Regions from separate parts of the Homo sapiens genome. Here region 2 is linked to region 1. The links are contacts of gene promoters, found by promoter capture Hi-C in blood cells and fetal thymus (Javierre and others, 2016). All regions are on one chromosome and are shown on one strand. Each heading gives the region's core, a stretch centred on a gene start or on the middle of the fragment in contact. The rest is flanking DNA. Distances are from core to core; before and after follow the strand shown. Region 1 holds the start of SPACA4 (sperm acrosome associated 4). Region 2 holds the start of KDELR1 (KDEL endoplasmic reticulum protein retention receptor 1).

Region 1 (3,901 bases), core at 891-3,390:
GATTACAGGTGTGAGCCACCCGTGCCCGGCTGAGCCTGGGAAATTGAGGCTGCAGTGAGCCGTGATAATACCACTGCATTCCAGCCTGGGCAGCAAAGCAAGACCCTGTCCCCCTCGCCCCCCTCCCAAAAAAAAAAAAGCCAGATGCGGTGGCTCACTCCTGTAATCCCAGCACTTTGGGAGGCTGAGGCGGGCAGATCATGAGGTCAGGAGTTTGAGATCAGCCTGACCAACATGGTGAAACCCCATCTCTACTAAAAATACAGAAATTAGCTGGGTATGGTGGCACATGCCTGTAATTCCAGCTACTCAGGAGGCTGAGGCAGGAGAATTGCTTGAACCCGGGAGGTGGAGGTTGCAGTGAGCTGAAATCACACCACTGCACTCCAACCTGGGCGACAGAGCGAGACTCTGACTCAAAAAAAAAAAAAAAAAAAAAAAACTTATCTGGAATCAGACTGGAGTTTAAACCCAGGCTCTGCCTGGTCCCCACTTAGGAACACCTCAATGCCTCAGTTTTCCCCTTTGGAAAGAGACGGAATTCACTTCCGGACACTAACAGGGATTGTTTTAAGACCCAGCTGCTTCCTAGAATGACTGCCATTTAGTCAGTCCTGGCTGTGCACCAAGCTCTCCACGTTGCTGCTCCCTGCAGTGCTCATCTGCAATCTGGAGCAAAAACCTAGGAAGGCCGTGTGCAGTGGCTCATGCCTGTAATCCCAGCACTTTGGGAGGCCGAGGCAGGAGGATCACTTGAGGCTAGGAGTTTGAGACCAGCCTGGGCAACATAGCAAGACCCCATCTCTATAAAAAATTTTACAAAATTAGCCGGGCATGGTGGTGCACGCCTATAGTCCCAGCTACTCTGGAGGCTCAGGGAGGAGAATCACTTGAGCCTGGGAAGTTGAGGCTGCAGTGAGCCAAGATCGCGCCACTGCACTCCAGTCTAGGCAACAGAGCAAGATCCTATTTTTTTTTTTTTTTGAGATGGAGTCTTGCTCTATTGCCTAGGCTCAAGTGCAGTGGCACAATATTGGCTCACTGCAACCTCCACCTCCCAGGTTCAAGCCTCCCAAGTAGCTGGGATTACAGGTGCACACCACCATGCCCAGCAAATTTTTGTATTTTTAGTAGAGATGGGGTTTTACCACGTTGGCCATGCTGGTCTTGAACTCCTGAGCTCAGGTGATCCACCCGCCTCGGCCTCCCAAAGTGCTGGGATTACAGGCGTGAGCCACTGCGCCCGGCCAATTTTTTAAAATAAAAAATAAAATTAAGAAATAAATACAACATAGGAATATTCAAATGACTGAATTTGAATCAAGCCCCCTGCACGTAGCTGGCCCTGAGAGCCTGTGAGCTGTGGGGGCCGGTGCCCTAACACTTCCTGTCATCACAGTAGTTGTTATTGAAAGCACCAAGTGCCAGGCGTGGTGTGGTGGCTCACGTCTGTAATCCCAGCACTTTGGGAGGTCGAGGCGGGCAGATCACTTGAGCTCAAGAGTTCGCAACCAGCCTGGCCTACATGGTGAAACCCTGTCTCTACTAAAAATACAAAAATTAGCCAGATGTGGTTGCATGCGCCTGCAGTCCCAGCCACTCGGGAGGCTGAGTTACGAGAATCGCTTGAAGCTGGGAAGCAGAAGCTGCAGTGAGCTGAGATCACGCCACTGCACTCCAGCCTGGGTGACAGAGTGAGAGACTCCGTCTCAAAAAAATAAAAGCAAGCAAGCACTGAGCATGAATCCTGGCACACAGCAAGTGCTCAGTTAATACACCCTCTTCTTTCCCAGCCTCTTTGGAATTCAATGAACCTGGCTCTCATCCTGGCTCGGGGACCCTGGATACATCACTTTCCCCAGCCTTAGTTTACCCATCTGGAATATGGGGTCACTATGGGAGGTGTGAGGCTGAAGTCAAGCCCTTGGCGGGTGTACAGCACAGAGAATGCGGACAAGCTTGTGGCCAGCGTCCTCTGGGTTCAGGGCGTCTTCACCTTGGCAGGGATGGCAGAGCCCTCTTGCGCCCCGGCAGGTCGGCGGGGCAGGCCACCCCTTGGATTGTGACACCCACTCCTCTCACCTATGACCTCATCCCCAGAGCGGCCAGTGGGAACCCTGAGGGATCTGTGAGATCACTCATTCCATTCACAGACTCTTGTTGGGCAGCAGCCACCCGCTCACCTCCATCCCCAGGACTTAGAGGGACGCAGGGCGTTGGGAACAGAGGACACTCCAGGCGCTGACCCTGGGAGGCCAGGACCAGGGCCAAAGTCCCGTGGGCAAGAGGAGTCCTCAGAGGTCCTTCATTCAGCGGTTCCGGGAGGTCTGGGAAGCCCACGGCCTGGCTGGGGCAGGGTCAACGCCGCCAGGCCGCCATGGTCCTGTGCTGGCTGCTGCTTCTGGTGATGGCTCTGCCCCCAGGCACGACGGGCGTCAAGGACTGCGTCTTCTGTGAGCTCACCGACTCCATGCAGTGTCCTGGTACCTACATGCACTGTGGCGATGACGAGGACTGCTTCACAGGCCACGGGGTCGCCCCGGGCACTGGTCCGGTCATCAACAAAGGCTGCCTGCGAGCCACCAGCTGCGGCCTTGAGGAACCCGTCAGCTACAGGGGCGTCACCTACAGCCTCACCACCAACTGCTGCACCGGCCGCCTGTGTAACAGAGCCCCGAGCAGCCAGACAGTGGGGGCCACCACCAGCCTGGCACTGGGGCTGGGTATGCTGCTTCCTCCACGTTTGCTGTGACCAACAGGGAGGACAGGGCCTGGGACTGTTCTCCCAGATCCGCCACTCCCCATGTCCCCATGTCCTTCCCCCACTAAATGGCCAGAGAGGCCCTGGACAACCTCTTGCGGCCCTGGCTTCATCCCTTCTAAGGCTGTCCACCAGGAGCCCGGTGCTAGGGGAAGCATCCCCAGGCCTGACTGAGCGGCAGGGGAGCACGGCCCGTGGGTTTGATTGTATTACTCTGTTCCACTGGTTCTAAGACGCAGAGCTTCTCACATCTCAATCAGGATGCTTCTCTCCATTGGTAGCACTTTAGAGTCCATGAAATATGGTAAAAAATATATATATATCATAATAAATGACAGCTGATGTTCATGGAGCATTCTTTGTTTTCTTTTCTTTTTCTTTTCCTTTTTTTTTTTTTCTTTTTGTAGAGATAAGGTCCAGCTATGTTGCCCAGGGTGGTCTCGGATTCTTGGGCTCAAGTGATCCTCCCACCTCAGCCTCCCAAAGTGCTGGGATTACAGGTATGAGCCACGGCACCTGGCCAAGCCTGTCTTACGTTACGTGCCACTGAATCCTCACACCAAGCTGGGAAGGTAAACACTCTTTCAAACATTTCAAACATCCTGGTCTCAACTCCAATCATTCTCAAAGTGTGGTCCCTGGACCAGAAACAGCAGCAGCAGCAAGTGGGAACTTCCTGAAAATGCAGATTCTCAGGTCCTGTTCCAGGCACGATGAATGGCAGTGGGGTCCAAAAGCTGTGTATTGTTCTCTCTTTTTCTTTTTGAAACAGGGTTTTGCTCTGCTGCCCAGGCTGGAGTGCAGTGGTGCAATCTTGGCTCATTGCAGCCTCTACCTCCTGGGCTCAAGCAATCCTCCCACCTCAGCCTCCTGAGTAGCTGGGACTAGAAGCATGCTCCATCATGTCTAATTTTTATTTTTTTAAATTTTTGTAGAGATGGGGTCCTGCTATGTTGCCCAGGCTGGTCTTGAAGTCCTGGGCTCAAGCGATCCTCCTGCCTCAGCCTCCCAAAGTGCTGGGACTACAGACATGAACCACCACGCCTGGCCTTTTTCCGTTTTCTTTTTCTTTTCCTTTTTTTTTTTTTTTTTTATTTTTTGAGACAGAGTCTCGCTCGGTCACCCAGGCTTTAGTGCAGT
Region 2 (3,901 bases), core at 895-3,394, 220 kb before region 1:
CCCAGAGCCCATGCACTGAACTTATGCATCCTAAAATAAGGCAGTTTGGGCACACCCTGCAGAAGGAAGCCTGTGAGAGGGTCTCCTGTCATAGCTACTCTGCCACAACCATCCCCCCAAATAAGGAGTCACAGCAAGGCGCCTACCTCCAGAGGGGTGAAGTCATGATTGACCAGGAACGCCAGAATGGCTGTGGGAACGACCAGGAACTCCACTCTGAACGTGTCATGGTTCCCATCGTAAGTAGCTTTGAACTTGCTATAAATCAACCAGACCGTGGTGAAGGAGCAGGCTATGTAGACCACCTGAGGAGGGGGATGATGAGAAGGGGCCTCAACTCACAGGCCTGTGCCCCAGTAGGCTCAGAGCCCGGAGTCCAGGCCCCTCCCTCAGACGCAGGAGTCCAGACCCCCAACCCCTCCTCCCTCAGACCCAGGAGTCCAAGCCCCCAGCCCCTCCTCCCTCAGACCCAGGAGTCCAGGCCCCCAACCCCTCCTCCCTCAGATCCAGGAGTCCAAGCCCCCAGCCCCTCCTCCCTCAGACCCAGGAGTCCAGGCCCCCAACCCCTCCTCCCTCAGACCCTGGAGTCCAGGCCCCCAGCCCCTCCTCCCTCAGACCCAGGAGTCCAGGGCCCCATTCCCTCCTCCCTCAGATCCAGGAGTCCAGGCCCAGCCCCTCCTCCCTCAGACCCAAGAGTCCAGGCCCAGCCCCTCCTCCCTCAGACCCAGGAGTCCAGGCCCCAGTCCCTTCCTCCCTCAGACCCAAAAGTCCAGGCCCCCGGCCCCTCCTCCCTCAGACCCAGGAGTCCAGACCCCCAACCCCTCCTCCCTCAGACCCAGGAGTCCAGGCCTCAGTCCCTTCTTCCCTCAGACCCAAGAGTCCAGGCCCCCGGCCCCTCCTCCCTCAGACCCAGGAGTCCAGGCCCCCAGCCCCTCCTCCCTCAGACCTAGGAGTCTGGGACCCACACCCGGCTCCTCTGCCTCAGTGGGGGCCAGAGAGGTGGGGTGGAGCCTCTACCTTCATACACGTGTTGTAGAGTGAGATGTAGTTGGTGAAGAGGTCCAGATATCGGGCAGTGAACACCACAGCAAACAGGACCTGGCTCTTCCCTGAAATTCCTGTGGTCCAGAGACAGAGAAAGAGAGAGAGAGAGAGACAGAGAGAGAGAGAGAGACAGACAGACAGACAGACAGACAGAAGGAGAGAGGAAGCTGGGGGTGGGCTGCATGGGCAATAAACTAAGGCAGGGCGCCCGGGACCAGCCTGGAGGCAGCTCTGGAGTGCAGCTGTCCCCGGAGGCCTCCCCAGCCCGCCCCGCCTGAGCAGGGCCCTTTCCCACGGACCACAGCCAGGGGGCAGCCCAGGCCCCCGAAGCTACTCCAGCCCGAGGCTCCGTCCCAGACTAGGCCTCATGGCTACCCCTGGCCCCTCAGGGTCCTCCCGCAGTCTGGACCTGAGGTGAGGCCTAGGGAGGACCTTCCCTGACCTCAGGCCCCGGATCCGGTCACCTCCCTCCCGTTCCCTTCCTGGCCGCCACGGTCCACGTCACCAACTCACAGCCACCTCCCCGCCTGCCATGGTTCCCTGTTCCCGGTCCATGAACCCTCGGGCTGCCCAGATTGGGGCTGGGGGTGGCTGAATTGGGGGCCTAAAGCCATTCACATGAAACTGTATGCACCCCCGCCAGTCTGGGGAAGGGAGCTGATCCCCTGGAGACCCAGAACCTAGAAGAGAGATCCCCAGCAAGCAGTGGGGGTGGAACCTGTGCCCCTAGTGCCCCCAAACCCTTCCTGAGTCCTGCGACGTCCCCCAACCCCCGCCCGCAATCTCTCTCCTTCGCCAGCCCTGGTGGGCCTCTCACCGGCGCACGAGCGGGACTTCCAGATTTTGAGCAGTAGCAAGATGATGGCGAGGAGGTGGGAGAGGTCTCCCAGGAATCGGAAGAGATTCATGGCTGGGGAACCCTGGCAGGGCTGAGCGGGAGGGAGGCAGGCTGGCGGGGGGGTGCCCCCCGAGGCTGCTGGTCTGAACGGGTAGCTGGGCTGGGGGGACGGAAGAGGGACCCTAGGTGCGCTCCGCTCCGGGGAGGGGACTTTGGGAGGGGGAGCAAAGGCTGGAGCTGGCGGCGGAGCTGGAGCCGGGAAGAGGGAGGAGAGCGAGAGGGGGAGGAGTCCGGGAGGAGAGGCTCCGCCCCCGAGGGCGGGGCCTGGATCCCCGGCGCCCCCTATCGCCCACCTCCTGCTTTGCCGTGGCGGCGCTAAACGCACCCCCAAAGCTGCCCCATAGGAACTTGGGAGGGTCGCAGGGTTCGGAAAGTGCCAAATCCAGCACCGGTTCGCCCAGGCAGTCTGTGTCTCTGGAAGAGACGCAGTCCAGTACACCAGCCTCAGCCCTTGCAGGGATGTAGAGACTGCCCTCTGAGCTTGAAAAATCCTGCAGGGACCCGGAGGCTCAGCTGCTAGCTTTTGCAGCTTTCAGGCACTCTAACTCCAATCCCCCAGAAGACAAGAAAGATACCCCACCTACTTCCTCCCCTAGACCCAGGACTCAAGGCCCCAGCCCGTTCGTCAAACCCAGAAGTCTGGGTCCCCAGCCCCTCCTCCCTCAGACCCAGGAGTCCAGACCCCCAGCCTCTCCTCCCTCAGACCCAGAAGTCCAGACCCCCAGCCCCTCCTCCCTCAGATCCAGGAGTCCAGGCCCAGCTCCTCCTCGCTCAGACCCAGGAGTCCAGGCCCCCAGCCTCCTCCCTCAGACCCAGGAGTCCAGGCCCCCAGCCTCCTCCCTCAGACCCAGGACTCCAGGCCCCCAGACCCTCCTCCCCCAGATCCAGGAGTCCAGGCCCCCAGCCCTTCCTCCCTCAGACCCAGGAGTCCAGACCCCCAGCACCTCCTCCCTCAGACCCAGGAGTCCAGATCCCCAGCCCCTCCTCCCTCAGACCCAGGGGTCCAGGGCCCCAGCCCCTCCTCCCTCAGACCCAGGGGTCCAGGGCCCCAGCCCCTCCTCCCTCAGACCCAGGGGTCCAGGGCCCCAGCCCCTCCTCCCTCAGACCCAGGAGTTCAGGGCCCCAGCCCTTTTCCCTCCTAGGACGCTGTTCCTTGGAACTTAGGGTCCCACCCCCACCATCTTATGGATCAAACATCCTAACCTTAAGAATCTAGATCTACAGTTTCTCCCTTTACGACCCACAGATTTAGGCCCTGATTCTCTTCTTTTTCAGGAATGTGCACCTCACCCTGTTCTCCCAGACCTTGAGGATGAAGGAAACAGGAGCCTCACCCAGGAGGCTCAAGGCCAAAACTCTGACCCAAACTACCTCAGGAGCCCCTGGCCCTGGCTTCCCCCCTGCTCCAGAGTTTCTGCCCTGCCCACACACACACACCCTCTTCCACCCTCAGAGGCCCCGGTGTCCTGCCCCACGCTCTACCCCAGAGCCCCACGGGTGGCTTTATAAAAGTGCCGGGCCCAGCCCTCTAGCAGGAGGGGAATGCTGGGCATCTGGGTGTGGGACCCCCGGGGAACAGCCTGTGGTCTGGACTCCTGCATCTATGAGGGGACAGACGTGGCTTCCCTTCCGGATGATGGGGTACCCACAGATGATGGAGGCCAGGGTCCCTCAATAAAAGAAGGGGTGCAGGCGTGTTGATTTCTTCAGAGGGCTGGAAGGACGGGGTGCCCAAGGGTGACATCCACGAGTCTTGGGTCCCTGAGGGTGGCTTGTACGGGGGAGAGTCGGGATGACTGAGTCCTTAAAAGAGACTCCGACTTGGAGGCGGTCCCCAAATTCCTGGGTCCCAGTAGAGAAGGGGACTCCTGGGTCTGAGGGAGGAGGGGCTGGGGGGTGGGACTCCTGGGACCAGGGTCGAGACCTGGTTTTCAGGCCTGGCCTTCTGGGGCAATAAAA

The links. Contacts are between HindIII fragments. The CHiCAGO score rates a contact against its expected background, and 5 or more counts as called.
Region 2: the fragment with the promoter of KDELR1 here is called in contact with the fragment with the promoter of SPACA4 in region 1 in 2 of 17 cell types (M0 macrophages and monocytes); the score reaches 6.7 in M0 macrophages.

What each region holds. Positions count from the first base shown.
Region 1 is chr19:48,604,602-48,608,502 of GRCh38, forward strand. SPACA4 (sperm acrosome associated 4) reads left to right here and starts at 2,141. Exons shown (of 1, transcript NM_133498.3): 1 at 2,141-3,113. The coding sequence starts at 2,378. The coding sequence ends at 2,752. The region is part of intron 5 of FAM83E (family with sequence similarity 83 member E); the gene reads right to left. The HindIII fragment of the contact is 9,007 bases long and covers 1,957-3,901 here.
Region 2 is chr19:48,389,407-48,393,307 of GRCh38, forward strand. It overlaps KDELR1 (KDEL endoplasmic reticulum protein retention receptor 1), which reads right to left and starts at 2,145. Exons shown (of 5, transcript NM_006801.3): 1 at 1,862-2,145; 2 at 1,018-1,118; 3 at 147-305. The coding sequence starts at 1,952. RefSeq lists an enhancer at 972-1,111 and a silencer at 1,982-2,301. The HindIII fragment of the contact is 34,435 bases long and covers 1-3,901 here.